4 separate regions of the Homo sapiens genome follow, and all the other regions are linked to region 1. Evidence: promoter capture Hi-C in 16 types of primary human blood cells and fetal thymus (Javierre and others, 2016). All regions are on one chromosome and are shown on one strand. Each heading gives the region's core, a stretch centred on a gene start or on the middle of the fragment in contact. The rest is flanking DNA. Distances are from core to core; before and after follow the strand shown.

The links. Contacts are between HindIII fragments. The CHiCAGO score rates a contact against its expected background, and 5 or more counts as called.
Region 2: a fragment that was not itself captured here is called in contact with the fragment with the promoter of DDX55 in region 1 in 1 of 17 cell types (activated CD4 T cells); the score reaches 5.1 in activated CD4 T cells.
Region 3: a contact is called between a fragment that was not itself captured here and the fragment with the promoter of DDX55 in region 1, in 6 of 17 cell types (erythroblasts, M0 macrophages, megakaryocytes and 3 more). The highest score is 6.4, in erythroblasts.
Region 4: a contact is called between a fragment that was not itself captured here and the fragment with the promoter of DDX55 in region 1, in 10 of 17 cell types (total CD8 T cells, megakaryocytes, M2 macrophages and 7 more). The highest score is 7.5, in total CD8 T cells.

Annotation. Positions count from the first base shown.
Region 1 is chr12:123,600,643-123,603,898 of GRCh38, reverse strand. DDX55 (DEAD-box helicase 55) reads right to left here and starts at 1,800. Exons shown (of 14, transcript NM_020936.3): 1 at 1,643-1,800. The coding sequence starts at 1,750. RefSeq lists an enhancer at 1,039-1,088 and a silencer at 1,329-1,438. The HindIII fragment of the contact is 10,701 bases long and covers 1-3,256 here.
Region 2 is chr12:123,290,101-123,293,356 of GRCh38, reverse strand. It overlaps SBNO1 (strawberry notch homolog 1), which reads left to right. Exons shown (of 32, transcript NM_001167856.3): 32 at 1-3,256. Among named protein-coding and RNA genes, the nearest start is that of CDK2AP1, 20 kb to the right of the region's middle. The HindIII fragment of the contact is 3,566 bases long and covers 1-3,256 here.
Region 3 is chr12:123,313,915-123,317,170 of GRCh38, reverse strand. SBNO1 (strawberry notch homolog 1) reads left to right here. Exons shown (of 32, transcript NM_001167856.3): 22 at 1,511-1,623; 23 at 1,727-1,798. Among named protein-coding and RNA genes, the nearest start is that of CDK2AP1, 44 kb to the right of the region's middle. The HindIII fragment of the contact is 8,873 bases long and covers 1-3,256 here.
Region 4 is chr12:123,329,745-123,333,000 of GRCh38, reverse strand. It overlaps SBNO1 (strawberry notch homolog 1), which reads left to right. Exons shown (of 32, transcript NM_001167856.3): 8 at 1,626-1,759; 9 at 2,492-2,582. Among named protein-coding and RNA genes, the nearest start is that of MIR8072, 33 kb to the left of the region's middle. The HindIII fragment of the contact is 8,023 bases long and covers 1-3,256 here.

The DNA of each region.
Region 1 (3,256 bases), core at 551-3,050:
CCCGGGAGGCAGAAGTTGCAGTGAGCCGAGATCGTGTCATTGCACTCCAACCTGGGCAACAGAGAAAGATTCCGTCTCAAAAAAGTTAAAAACAAACAAACAAACAAAAAACAAAAAAAAGAACTCTTGACTTTCCCTCTGAAACCTGATACGCACGCCAGTCATTCTTGGGAAATGGTAACACCATTCACTCAGCTACTAATAAAAATCAGCCGGGTGCGGTAGCTCAGCCTGTAATCCCAGCACTTTGGGAGGCCAAGGCGGGTGGATCAGGAGGTCAGGAGTTCAAGACCAACCTGGCCGAGATGGTGAAACCCCGTATCTACTAAAAATACAAAAAATTAGCCGGGCATGGTGGCAGGCACCTGTGATCTCAGCTACTTGGGAGGTTCAGGCAGAGAATTGCTTGAACCCAGGAGGCGGAGGTTGCAGTGAGCCGAGATCGCGCCACTGCACTCCAGCCTGGGCAACAGAGCGAGACTCCATCTCAAAAAAAAAAAAAAAAAGAATAAAAACCTCAGGTCCTGTAGTCTTTTCTTTCCTAACCTCCACTTCCAGTCCCTTAGCAACCTTAAAGCTATCCCAAATGTGACTTCTCAGTATCCACTGGTTCCACCCTACTCCAAGTCACCATCATCTCTTACCTGACAATGGCCTCCTAAGCGACCTGCCTGCTTCATCTCTTATGCCTGGAAAGGCCACTCTCTACAGAGAAATCACAGCCCTTCCCTTCCTAAACATCCTCCCAGATAAGATGGCTTCCCACTACATTTAGAATGAAATCCAAGCGCCTACAAGACCCTGCACAATCCATCTCTTACACTACTCTTGATGTTCAGCCACAAAGGCCTCCTTTCTGCTGCTCAAACTATTTGCAGCCTGCCGCAGGGCATTTATGTGCACTGGTATTTCTCTCCAGTGGAATAATCTCCCCCTAGTCACCTCAGAGCCAGCTCCTTCTCAATCACTGAGGTCTCAGCTCAATGCACCTCCTCAGAGAGGCCTTCCTTAACACCCTATCTCACCTCCTCTGCAGTCCTCGCGCGACACTATCACAACCGTCTTAGTTCTTTCATAACACTTACCAGCAGCTGAAATTATCCTTTCTCTAGCTCTTGCACTAGAAAGTAAGGCTATGAGCAGATGCCAATACTGCAAACTCCCCAGAGCCTAGAAGAGTTCCTGACACATAGCAGGTCCTCAAGAAATATTCTTGAAGAGATGCATAACAACGGTAACCCTTACTGAGCTCCCATAGTGTGCCGACTGGTTTATTTAGTCCCCACAGCAACCCCATAAGGAGGGTGTTATTTTTTCGTCATTTCACAGAGAAGGAAAATGAAGCACGGAGAGGTTAAGCCATTTGCCCGAGGTCTCACAGCTACAGCGAGCAGGGCCAGGATGAGAACCAGGCTTGAGACCACAGCACCCGAGGGCGGGGTGGGTCGCGGCCCCTCTGCCGGCTCGCTGGCCGGGCAGCTCCGCATTCCGCCAGTCTGGGCAGCTGGAGACAAGGCAAGAGCCCCAGCTGGAGGGATGAGCGCCCCAGGGCTCAGATCTGTCCGATCACCTCCTGTGGGTCCGATGCAGCGGGTGCCTGCCCCTCTCCCAGCCTCACTCCCCCACGCCAGGGAACCGATACCTGCACCGGCGTCATGTACGGGAAGCCCAGCTCCCGCAGCGCGCCCAGCACCTGCGGGTGCAGCGGCACAGGCAGCGACTCCCAGGAGCCCTCTGTCACATGCTCCATGGCGCGCTCCTTCGCCGCGTCGGTCGCCGCTGCTCGAACGCGCCTTGTGCACCCCCAACGAGCACTTCCGCTTCCCGCAGCTCCAGCGGCCGGCCGGGAACTTCGCTGGAGCAGCAGAGTTCCGGAGCGCGGCGAAGGCTCCCACGCCGCGGGAGGGAGGAAAGGCGTCCGCGGGACGGTGGAGGCAGGCGGCGGGGCAGGCCTGGGGAGTTACACCCGCTCCGCACAGCGCCCTGGGCTCCGGGCGCCTCTCCGCACCGGGCAGGAGTTTTGGCGGGAGGGATTCTGGCCCGGCCCTCCCACTTTCTCTGCCCCTCGGAGGCAGGTGGCAGCACAGGACCGCGTCCAGGCCGAAGGACAGCGGGGCTGGCTACCGTGGGCAGAGAAACGTGTCGGGGACCCGGGTTAGCAGCCCTGCAAAACAGGCACCCGCTGATGGCCGGTACGTCCTGAATGTTGCGGTCCGATGGCCGGTACGTCCTGAATGTTGGTTTACTTTCCCGGAAGTTAGGGTCAGAGTCCTAACTAAGAACACTGTCCCATTCCTCTGTTCACTGTTTGCCTGGGCCATTCATGTCCACATACAACTTCACTCAGAAAGCTGTTTTTGTTGTTGTTGTTGTTGTTGTTGTTGTTTGAGACGGAGTCTCGCTCTGTTGCCCAGGCTGGAGGCTGGGCGCTATAACGGTTCACTGCAAGCTCCGCCTCCCGGGTTCACGCCCTTCTCCTGCCTCAGCCTCCCGAGTACCTGGGACTGCAGGCGCCCTCCACCACGCCCGGCTAATTTTTTGTATTTTTAGTAGAGACGGGGTTTCACCGTGTTAGCCAGGATGGTCTCGATTTCCTGACCTCGTGATCCGCCCGCCTCGGCCTCCCAAAGTGCTGGGATTACAGGCGTGAGCCACCGCGCCCGGCCTTCACTCAGCAAACTTTTATTGACCACTCATTATGTGCCCTCTATGAGGGCCTATCTCCTCCACCTATGTGCATGGCTTGCTCCTGTTGAGGCTCTGAAAACGAAACCCCAAAATGAAGGCCCCAGAGGCAGCCTCAGAAGCAAGTTTCTCTCTGACCTTCTGCTCCCTCTCTGATCTCTGATTCTCTGAGGCTAGCCATAGAAACTCAAGAATCCCTCTTGCCCATGACGGAGCATAGAAACAGGAATCCCTTTTCTCCACAGTCAGCCATAAAACCTAAAAATATTACTCTCTCTCCACCTTTCTGTGAAAAAACTGGCCATAAAGAAATTATTGGCCTGGCACGGTGGCTCACGCCTGTAATCTCACCACTTTGGGAGGCCAAAGCGGGCAGATCTCAAGGTCAGGAGTTCGAGACCAGCCTGGCCAATATGGTGAAACCCCGTCTCTACTAAAAATACAGAAATTAGCCAGGCGTGGTGGCGCATGCCTGTAGTCCCAGCTACTCAGGAGCCTGAGGCAGAAGAATCGCTTGAACCAGGGAGGTGGAGGTTGCGCCACTGCACTCCAGCGTGGGTGACAAAGCGAG
Region 2 (3,256 bases), core at 488-2,987, 310 kb after region 1:
CGTGGTGGCTCACTCCTATAATCCCAGCACTTCGGGAGGCCAAGGCAGGTGCATCACTTGAGGCCAGGAGTTCGAGACCAGCCTGGTCCACATGGCAAAACCCCATCTGTACCAAAAAATACAAAAAATTTGCCGCTGACTTCTGTAAAATAGGTCCATTCATTGCAGGATCTAAATGCCACACCTGAATTCAGAGGCCTTGTTTAATTAACCCCATGTCCACTTTGCCTCTGCAATGCCTTTTTCTTTTTAGCAATATGGCTCTGAGCACAAAGATTTGGTTGGAAATCATGTTCGTGTTTTCAGAGTTTACAGCGTCAATTGTACTGAAAACCACTTCCAGAGTCTAAAGCAGCTCAGATGTTATCTCTGGGGGAATTAGTGTTCCCCTCATTTAGCAACCTCCATACCACAAGGTCTCTGTCTGTAGTTACTGGGATTATCCAGATACACTATCAATGATACAAATTCATAGGAGTATTAATGCATTTCTTTAAACACAACTTGATTAAGAAGCAAATATGTTAAGCAGTTTTCTTTTTCTGCTGCTAAATTACAGTTAGACACTTCAGTATCTTCTCTTTACATGTGTATATAAATTAGTAAGAACCTGCATCCAAAGCAATGTAGTGTGTGTATGTATCTATATATATTTATTCTAACTCAGCACTTCAGAAGCCTTTTTGAGTTACAACAATATTTTAGTTTGCCTCATCTGTAGAGGTAAAATTTCTATATTACCAAGCTCCAGAGGAATATGATATTTTACAGGCACAATTTTCTGGCTGTAGTCCCTGGGGCATTCATTTGCTGGCCTCCATGGGATGCTGTTAGAACAATTGTTAGCCGGCAAGAGAAGAAAGGCTACCAGGACAGCATTTATAATTGTAGAATGGGAGCCTTCTTCCCTCTCCCCTCCACTTTCATTTTAGCATGAGATAAAAAAATAGATTGGAAATGATTGTTGCATCTCACTTCATGGAAGTAGGGGCAGAAGTTCCCTCTGGATCCTTTTCTTGACAAGCAGTCAAGAGGAAGGTCCCCATACACATGTACCTGTGTGATACTTGGTAGTTTCTAAGAATGGTGCTACATAAGCGTTGCTGTTAGGCTGGGATCCTATTAATGAACGTTTGATTAGTTCAGGCCTCCCAATGGCAAAGGCAGACACCGTGGAGATGGACATTTACTGACTCCCCTTCTGTGTGGCTTCGGTCTCCCTGGCTAACACCACACCTGTGCGTACTGCGCTCGGCCCACTTTGCTGCAGAAACGTAGCAAGCGTTTCATGTCAGGGCTACAGCTGAGAGCAAAAACTGCAAAAAAAAAAAAAAATGTCTCATTGAATGCCAGTTGTCTGATACAAATGCAGTGTCTTTTAAGTGACAGAAACACACCTAAATACCTGCAACTCAAGCTCGCTAGCATTTTTTTTTTGAGTACTTGAGATAAAATCCAAAACCCACCCTCTAATTTTGTGCTGTATTTATATATATGTACATAAATGTATATATAGAGAAATGTTGAGTTCTTCTGGATTCTGAATGTAAATAATTCTTGTAAATTGGGACTCTGCCCACCTGTTTCTCCCTTTTCCCTCTTCCCTTCAGCTCTATTTATTCTTTTCTTGACTTTCCCATATGGGGCATCTTATGACTTTTTTTTTTTTTTTTTTTTAAGAAAAGTATGGAAAACTTTTCATTTAGAAAAGTATTTGTTCCTGTATTTTAGAATTCAGTTTTGCATCTTTGCTGTAGAATTCCTGTTTTGTGTTAATGTTTTTTACTATGTCTTATTGTGTTGTGTGCAATGCATTGTACTGGGGGGATGCACTTGAGTGCCATTTCTGATACTGTCATTGTATGACTGCTGATGCTCGTTTATGTTGTTCTTTGGAAGCTATAGTGAGCCTGATGTTTTCACATTTTAAAAAATGCTTCCTGAGACTTCTTTAAGCTCCTCTAACTTCTTCAGTGCATTTGGGATCAAACTTAGCTCTTAGATCAGCAAACCTGACTTGCTTCTACTTTTGCAATTTTTCAGGCCTTACCATATTTCTTATCTCTGTCTTCCCACCTGATAGGAAAATCTTGCAGATTTGAAACAGTGGTTTCTGGCCTGCTGCTGCAGCAAATTCCCTATGTTTATTTAAGAAGTCGGGCCTATGCTTTTAACCTACAAATGATGAGTAATTTACTTGCAATGAACACAGGTAGCCTGCTGCTGTTTATAACCTGTTGAGGATATTTATAGCAGGCAGGAGGCAGGCCTAGTGTGTTATTGACAGGTGACTTTAGAGAATGTACATTGGCCGGGTGCGGTGGCTCACGCCTGTAATCCCAGCACTTTGGGAGGCCGAGGCGGGCGGATCATGAGGTCAGGAGATTGAGACCATCTCCTGGCTAACACGGTGAAACCCCGTCTCTACTAAAAATACAAAAAAAAAAAAAACTTAGCCAGGCGTGGTGGCGGGTGCCTGTAGTCCCAGCTACTCAGGAGGCTGAGGCAGGAGAATGGCATGAACCTGGGAGGCAGAGCTTGCAGTGAGCCCAGATCGCGCCACTGCACTCCAGCCTGGGCAACAGACCGAGACTCCGTCTCGAAAAAAAAAAAAGAGAGAGAATGTACATTAAGGAACAATTGTCCTCCAAAAGAGAGCCAAGCAACTGCTCTGGAGCCTCCTAGGCTGACTCTGCTGGAGGGTGAGACAAGCAGATTCCCATTGCAGCACTGGTCCCTGGGGTACCCTGAACGGCTGTGCTCTCCACCCTTGTATCGGTGAGTGGATCTTGTCTACATCAGCCGTAAGCCTAGAAGCAGAGCGGGATCGAGGCGTTTTTAATAATTCGAGTTGGGAAGACCCGGATGGTTCATCAAAATGATGGTGTTGAGCACCCGGGAGGCAGACATTGGGTATTTGTTCACAATTTTGCACCTGTAAGAAAATGTTCCTTTATAACTTTCAAGGATTGCCGTGAGCGTCTTTGGGGCCTTTTCATTCATGTACAAGTTTCATTCATTACTATTCAACTTGGTAGACTTGGTGAAAAATGTAAAAGCATTCTGTATTTGGATCAGTCTTGGGAACTAAATTTGTCGTGAATTGGGGCCTGTCACAGATTGCCTCCAGTGTGCATCCTCCACGCAGACCCTCCTTGCTCAGTCTCCCTCTGGCGCCCATGGGGAAGCCGTGCTGTGGTTGGCAGTGCGGCCATCTGGGCTGCCGCAACGTGGCAGGGCACCGTCCAGCAAGACT
Region 3 (3,256 bases), core at 520-3,019, 290 kb after region 1:
GGGTAAATTTGCGCATACCAAAACCTAGGTTTAGGCCGGGCACAGAGGCTCACGCCTGTAATTCCAACATTTCGGGAGGCCACTGTGGGAGGATAACTTGAGTCCGGGAGTTTGAGACCAGCCTGGTCAACGCAGTGAGACCCTTTCTCCACCAAAAGAAAAGAAAAACAGCTGAGAGCAGTGGCTCGTGCCTGTAATCCCAGCACTTTGGGAGGCTGAGGTGGGTGCATCACTTGAGGTAATAGTTTGAGACCAGCCTGGTCAACATGGTGAAACCCAGCCTCTACTAAAAATACAAAAATTAACTGGGTGTGTTGGCACACACCTGTAATCCCAGCTACTTAGGGTGCTGAGACGGGAGAATTGCTTGAACCTGGGAGGCGCAGGCTGCAGTGAGCTGAGATCACGCTATTGCACTCCAGCCTGGGCAACATAGGGAGATTCCATCTCAAAAAAAAAAAAAAAAAGAAGAAGAAAAGAAAAACTTGCTGGGTGTGGTGGCGTGTGCCTGTAGTCCCAGCTACTCAGGAGGCTGAGGTAGGAGGATTACTTGAGTCCAGGAGTTCAAGGTTGCAGTGAGATATGATTTCACCACTGCACTCCAGCCTGGGTGACAGAGCGTGACCTTGTCTCAAAAAACAAAAACAGGCTGGGCGCAGCGGCTCACGCCTGTAATCCCAGCACTTTGGCAGGCTGAGGTGGGTGGATCACCTGAGGTCGGGAGTTCAAGACCAGGATGACCAACATGGAGAAACCCTGTCTGTACTAAAAATACAAAATTAGCCGGGCGTGGTGGTGCATGCCTGTAATCCTGGCTACTCAGGAGGCAGAGGTAGGAGAATCGCTTGAACCCGGGAGGCGGAGGTTGCAGTGAGCCAAGATCACACCATTGCACTCTACCTTTGGCAACAAGAGCGAAACTCTAACAACAACAAAAAAATCCTGTTTAATGTCTTATATCTTATCTCGAAATCTCAGATCTTGCATTTAAGGAGTGTTATATATATACTTTATAGTATATGATGCATTGTGGATTCATTTTTTGCTTGTTTACAAGTTGTAAAAAATATATATGTGGTGGGAATTTGTGGGGTTCCAAGAACAGGGTTCCTCAAGGAGTGTCCTTATAAAACTTAAGGATGTATTAGGTCCATATCAGAGAAGCTGCTACTTCTATATGTGTTTCCAACCTCAGTAGCTTCACCAAAGGCCCATAGCTCCTCCCTCCATCTTCATGTTCTTGTGACCAATGATTTGAAAAACAATTTTGGGAAAATCCAGAGTAATTGTGCATCAGTAACATGTGGTTAAGCAAAATTGGGGTAGCAATGCTAATACTTCTGTCATTGAGCAGTTTTATGTGTGTTATGGTAATTTTACATTATCTGTAATTTTTATTGTTTAGTGGTTTCCCAATACCAGTTTAGTGTTAAATGCTAGGAATACATCTCAGAATATTCTCTGTCCAGCGAACACAATCAATGATCTTTAAAACAAAATTTCGTTGCAGGACGTACTCATAGATCAAACCAAGTTACTGCTCCTGAGTATGTCTTTCTGATATCTGAACTGGCAGGAGAACAAAGATTTGCATCTATTGTTGCTAAAAGACTTGAGAGTTTGGTGAGTTTTGGAGTTGTGTGGCTGTGTGTAAATGATGATCTATTGTACCTGTTTTCTGGTAAAAGGTTACCTGTGCCTTGATTGAAATTTTTGTTTTTAACAGGGGGCACTTACACATGGTGATAGAAGGGCAACAGAATCTAGAGATCTGAGCAGGTTCAACTTTGATAATAAGGTACATTTCAATTTTCAGTATCTCTGAAAACTTGTGATAGTGTATGGTGTCTTTCGGGAACACAAAAGGAAAGTAGTTACTGTCTAAAACAAAACTGCCTCTCCTATGCATTTGCTTTAAAATCATGGCTTCCTATAAGACAGAATTTCACATGTATGTTAGATCGCATGTTAAGTATCAGTACAGCAATGTAGTTGTCTTTATTCCTTTTGGAAAACAAGAATAAATGAGACTGAATTAACTGTGAGTTCTCAGAAGCAAAGGAAGTTAATTTTTCTCATGTTTTTTATGTGTAGAGACATGAACTAGGCAGTATAAAATATATATAAAGGCCAGGCGCTGTGGCTCATGTCTGTAATCCCAGCACTTTGGGAGGCCAAGGCAGGTGGATCACTTGAGGTCAGGAGTTCGAGACCAGCCTGGCCAACGTGGTGCAACCACATCTGTACTAAAAAAAAAAAAAAAATACAAAAATTAGGCCGGGATCAGTTGCTCACACCTATAATCCCAGAATATAGGAGGCCAAGGCAGGTGGGTCACCTGAGGTCAGGAATTCGAGACCAGCCTGACCAACATAGTGAAATCCCATCTCTACAAAAATTAGATGGGCGTGGTGGCATGCATCTGTAGTCCCAGCTACTTGGAAGGCGGAGGTTGCAGTGAGCCGAGATCATGCCACTGCACTCCAGCCTGGGCAATAGGGCAAGACTCTGTCTCAAAAAATTATACAAAAATTAGTTGGGCGTGGCTGGGCACAGTGGCTCACGCCTGTAATCCAGCACTTTGGGAGACCGAGGTGGGTGGATCACGAGGTCATGAGATCGAGACCATCCTGGCCAACATGGTGAAACCCTGTCTCTACTAAAAATAGAAAAATTAGCTGGGCGTGGTGGTGTGCGCCTGTAGTCCTAGCTACTTGGGAGGCTGAGGCAGGAAAATCACTTCAACCTGGGATGCAGAGGTTGCAGTGAGCCGAGTTTACACCACTGCACTCCAGCCTGTCAACAGAGCAAGACTCCGTCTCAAAGAAAAAAAAAATTTAGTTGGGCATGGTGGCGGGCACCTATAATCCCAGCTACTTGGGAGGCTGAGGCAGGAGAACCGCTTGAACCCAGGAGGCGGAGGTTTCAGTGAGTAGAGATCGTGCCATTACATTCCAGCCTGGGCGATGAGCAAAACTCTGTCTCCAAAAAAAGAAAAAATAAATAAATACATATAAAGATAATTGAGAATTGCTTTTTTGAATCTTTGGTACAATAAGTTTGTGGGTTTTTTGGGGTTTTGTTGAGAGGGAGTTTTTTGCTCTTGTCGCCCAGGCTGGAGCACAATGACGCCATCTCGGCTCACTACAACCTCCGCCTCCTAGGTTCAAGCAATTCTCCTGCCTCAGCCTTCCAAGTAGCTGGGATTACAGGTGTCTGCCACCACACCCAGCTAATTTTTTGTAGTAGAGATGGG
Region 4 (3,256 bases), core at 203-2,702, 270 kb after region 1:
AGGCACCCACCGCCACGCCCGGCTAATTTTTTCTGTTTTTAGTGGAGATGGGGTTTTACCGTGTTAGCCAGGATGGTCTCGATCTCCTGACCTCATGATCCACCCATCTCGGCCTCCCAAAGTGCTGGGATTACAGGTGTGAGCCACCGTGCCCGGCCCAATCCCAGTACTTTGGGAGGCTGAGGCAGGCGGGTCACCCTGAGGTCAGGAGTTAGAGACCAGCCTGGCCAACGTGGTGAAACCCTGTCTCTACCAAAAATACAAAAATTAGCCAGGCATGGTGGTACACACCTCTAGTGCCATCTACTTGGGAAGCTAAGTCAGGAGAATCACTTGAACCCAGGAGGTGGAGGTTGCAGTGAGCTGAGATTGTGCCACTGCACTCCAGCCTGGACGACAGAGTGAGACTCTGTCTGAAAAAAACTAAAAAACCACTGGCCGGGCACTTTGGGAGGCTGAAGCTGGCGGATCACCTGAGGTTGGGAGTTCGAGACCAGCCTGGCCAACATGGTGAAACCCTGTCTCTACTAAAAATACAAAAACTAGCTGTGCGTGGTGGCACATGCCTGTAATCCTAGCTACTCGGGAGGCTGAGGCAGGAGAATCACTTGAACTCAGGAGGCGGAGGTTGCGGTGAGCCGAGATTGTGCCATTGCACTCTAGCCTGGGCAACAAGAGCAAAACTGTCTCAAAAACAAAACAAAACAAAAACAAACAAAAACCTGTTTGATTCTGCAGGTGTTGATAAGGGGTATGGCGGGCTCCTCACTAATTTGTTAACTTTCATTACCTGGTGCATGGAAGAGTAGCAGGAGATAATATACAGTAAATATGTAGAAAGTATTCACATTGAGCTGGGCGCGGTGACTCGTGCCTGTAATCTCAGCACTTTGGGAGGCCAAGGCGGGTGCATCATGAGGTCAGGAGATCGAGACCATCCTGGTCAACGTGGTGAAACCCTGTCTACTAAAAATACAAAAAATTAGCTGGGCGTGGTGGTGCATACCTGTAATCCCAGCTACTCGGGAGGCTGAAGCAGGAGAATAGCTTGAACAGGAATTCAGAGGTTGCAGTGAGCCGAGATTGTGCCACTGCACTTCAGCCTGGCAACAGAGCGAGACCCCGTTTCAAAAAAAGAAAAAAAAGAAAGTATCCACATTAAAGCCAAAACTATAAAATTTGGCTGGGTGCAGTGCCTCACACCTGTAATCCCAGCACTTTGGGAGGCTGAGGCGGGCGGATCACGAGGTCAGGAGATCGAGATCATCCTGGCTAACATGGTGAAACCCGTTTCTACTAAAAATAGAAAAAATTAGCCAGGCGTGGTGGCGGGCGCCTGTAGTCCCACCTACTCAGGAGGCTGAGGAAGGAGAATGGTGTGAACCCGGGAGGCAGAGATTGCAGTGAGCCAAGATCGCGCCACTGCACTCCAACCTGGGCGACAGAGCGAGACTCCGTCTCAAAAAAAAATCCAAAACTCTATGAAATTTATGTAAAAATAAAGTCACAAAATACATATACAAAACAAAAAACATAACATATTCCTACTCCTAAAACAGTGTATGAAAGATTGATCACCAAAATATCTGAAGGATTATATTAATTACCAGCCTTTTGTTTTTCAGCAACATGAAACTTTCCTACCTAATGGAGATCGTGCTGGCTTCTTAATAGGTGATGGTGCCGGTGTAGGAAAAGGAAGGACGATAGCAGGAATCATCTATGAAAATTATTTGTTGAGTAGAAAACGAGCATTGTGGTAAGTGTTTAAAAACTGGCTGTGGGCCAGGCGCAGCGGATCACGAGGTTAGGAGATCGAGACCATCCTGGCTAACACAGTGAAACTCCGTCTCTACTAAAAGTACAAAAAATCAGCCGGTCGTCATGGTGGGTTCCTGTAGTCCCAGCTACTCAGGAGGCTGAGGCAGGAGAATGGCGTGAACCCTGGAGGCATAGCTTGCAGTGAGCCGACATTGTTCCTCTGCACTCCAGCCTGGGTGACAGAGTGCGACTCCGTCTCAATGGAAGGTTTTGTTAGTAATTACTTTAGCATGTGGGGATGGGATCCGCCTTCCCCATCTAGACAGGATCTTTGTCACCCAGGCTGGAGTGCTGTGGCATATTCATGGCTCACTGCAGCCTCTACCTCAGGGGCTCAAGCAGTTCTGCCTCAGCCTCTTGAGTAGCTGGGACTACAGGCATGCACTACCATGCTTGGCTAATTTTTTGTAGATACGGGCTCTTCTTGTGTTGCTCAGGCTGGTCTCGAACTCCTGGGCTCAAGCAGTCCTCCTGCCTTAGGCTCCCAAAGTGCTAGGATTATGGGTGTGAGCCACTGCACTCAGTGGGATGGTGTTTTAATGAGTAAGTGTATTTTCTTTTTCTTTTTTTTTTTTTTTTTAAGTGTCAAGACCTGGCTTTATTAATTTTATTCCTGAATTCTAGAATGATATAATTTGTATTTAATTTGTGCTTTTTAATATTTTGGCAGGTTTAGTGTTTCAAATGACTTAAAGTATGATGCTGAAAGAGATTTAAGGGATATTGGAGCAAAAAACATTTTGGTTCATTCGTTAAATAAGGTATGAAATCTTTTTATTCAGTTGGTCATTCAATAAATATTGACTCATCTGTGAGATGACAATAATAATAGCTATGTATATAAGGGGACACTTTTTGGAAAACTTTGATGTTACTCCACAGAAAGCATAGTGAGTGCTAGCCACTATTGTTGGTTTGTGGATTCCTATATGCTAAACACTGACAGGCAGTAGCCACTCATCACATGTGGCTATTGAACAGTGTAAGTGACCAGTCCAAATTGAGATGTGCTCTCAAGTGTACAGTGCACACCAGTTGATTCTCTCAATTTTCAGTGTTATTTTTATCTTTCTTTTATAGTTTATATGCCATAAGGGTGCAGTTTAGACAGGTGGCATACCTTGCACTATAGGTCACCAAATCATATGCGATGTAGATAGTTATGGCTTGGGCAGACTGGTTTCAGTATTTGTACAGCTAATGGACTTGAGTTACTCATACCTCTGCTCACATGAAAACAATTCTGTAAGCTGAAAGACAATGTGTGCCAGTGTGTTTTAGAATGTTAAGGTTCAGTTAGCAAATCTTTATTGACTTACTATGCATGCACCAATTGTTGGTGCTATAAGGTTAAAATAGACTGATAGGGTTCCTGGAAGGGCCTCCCTAGTAGCCCTTTGAAAATAAGTAACTGCACCTCTACTTCCCATGTGAG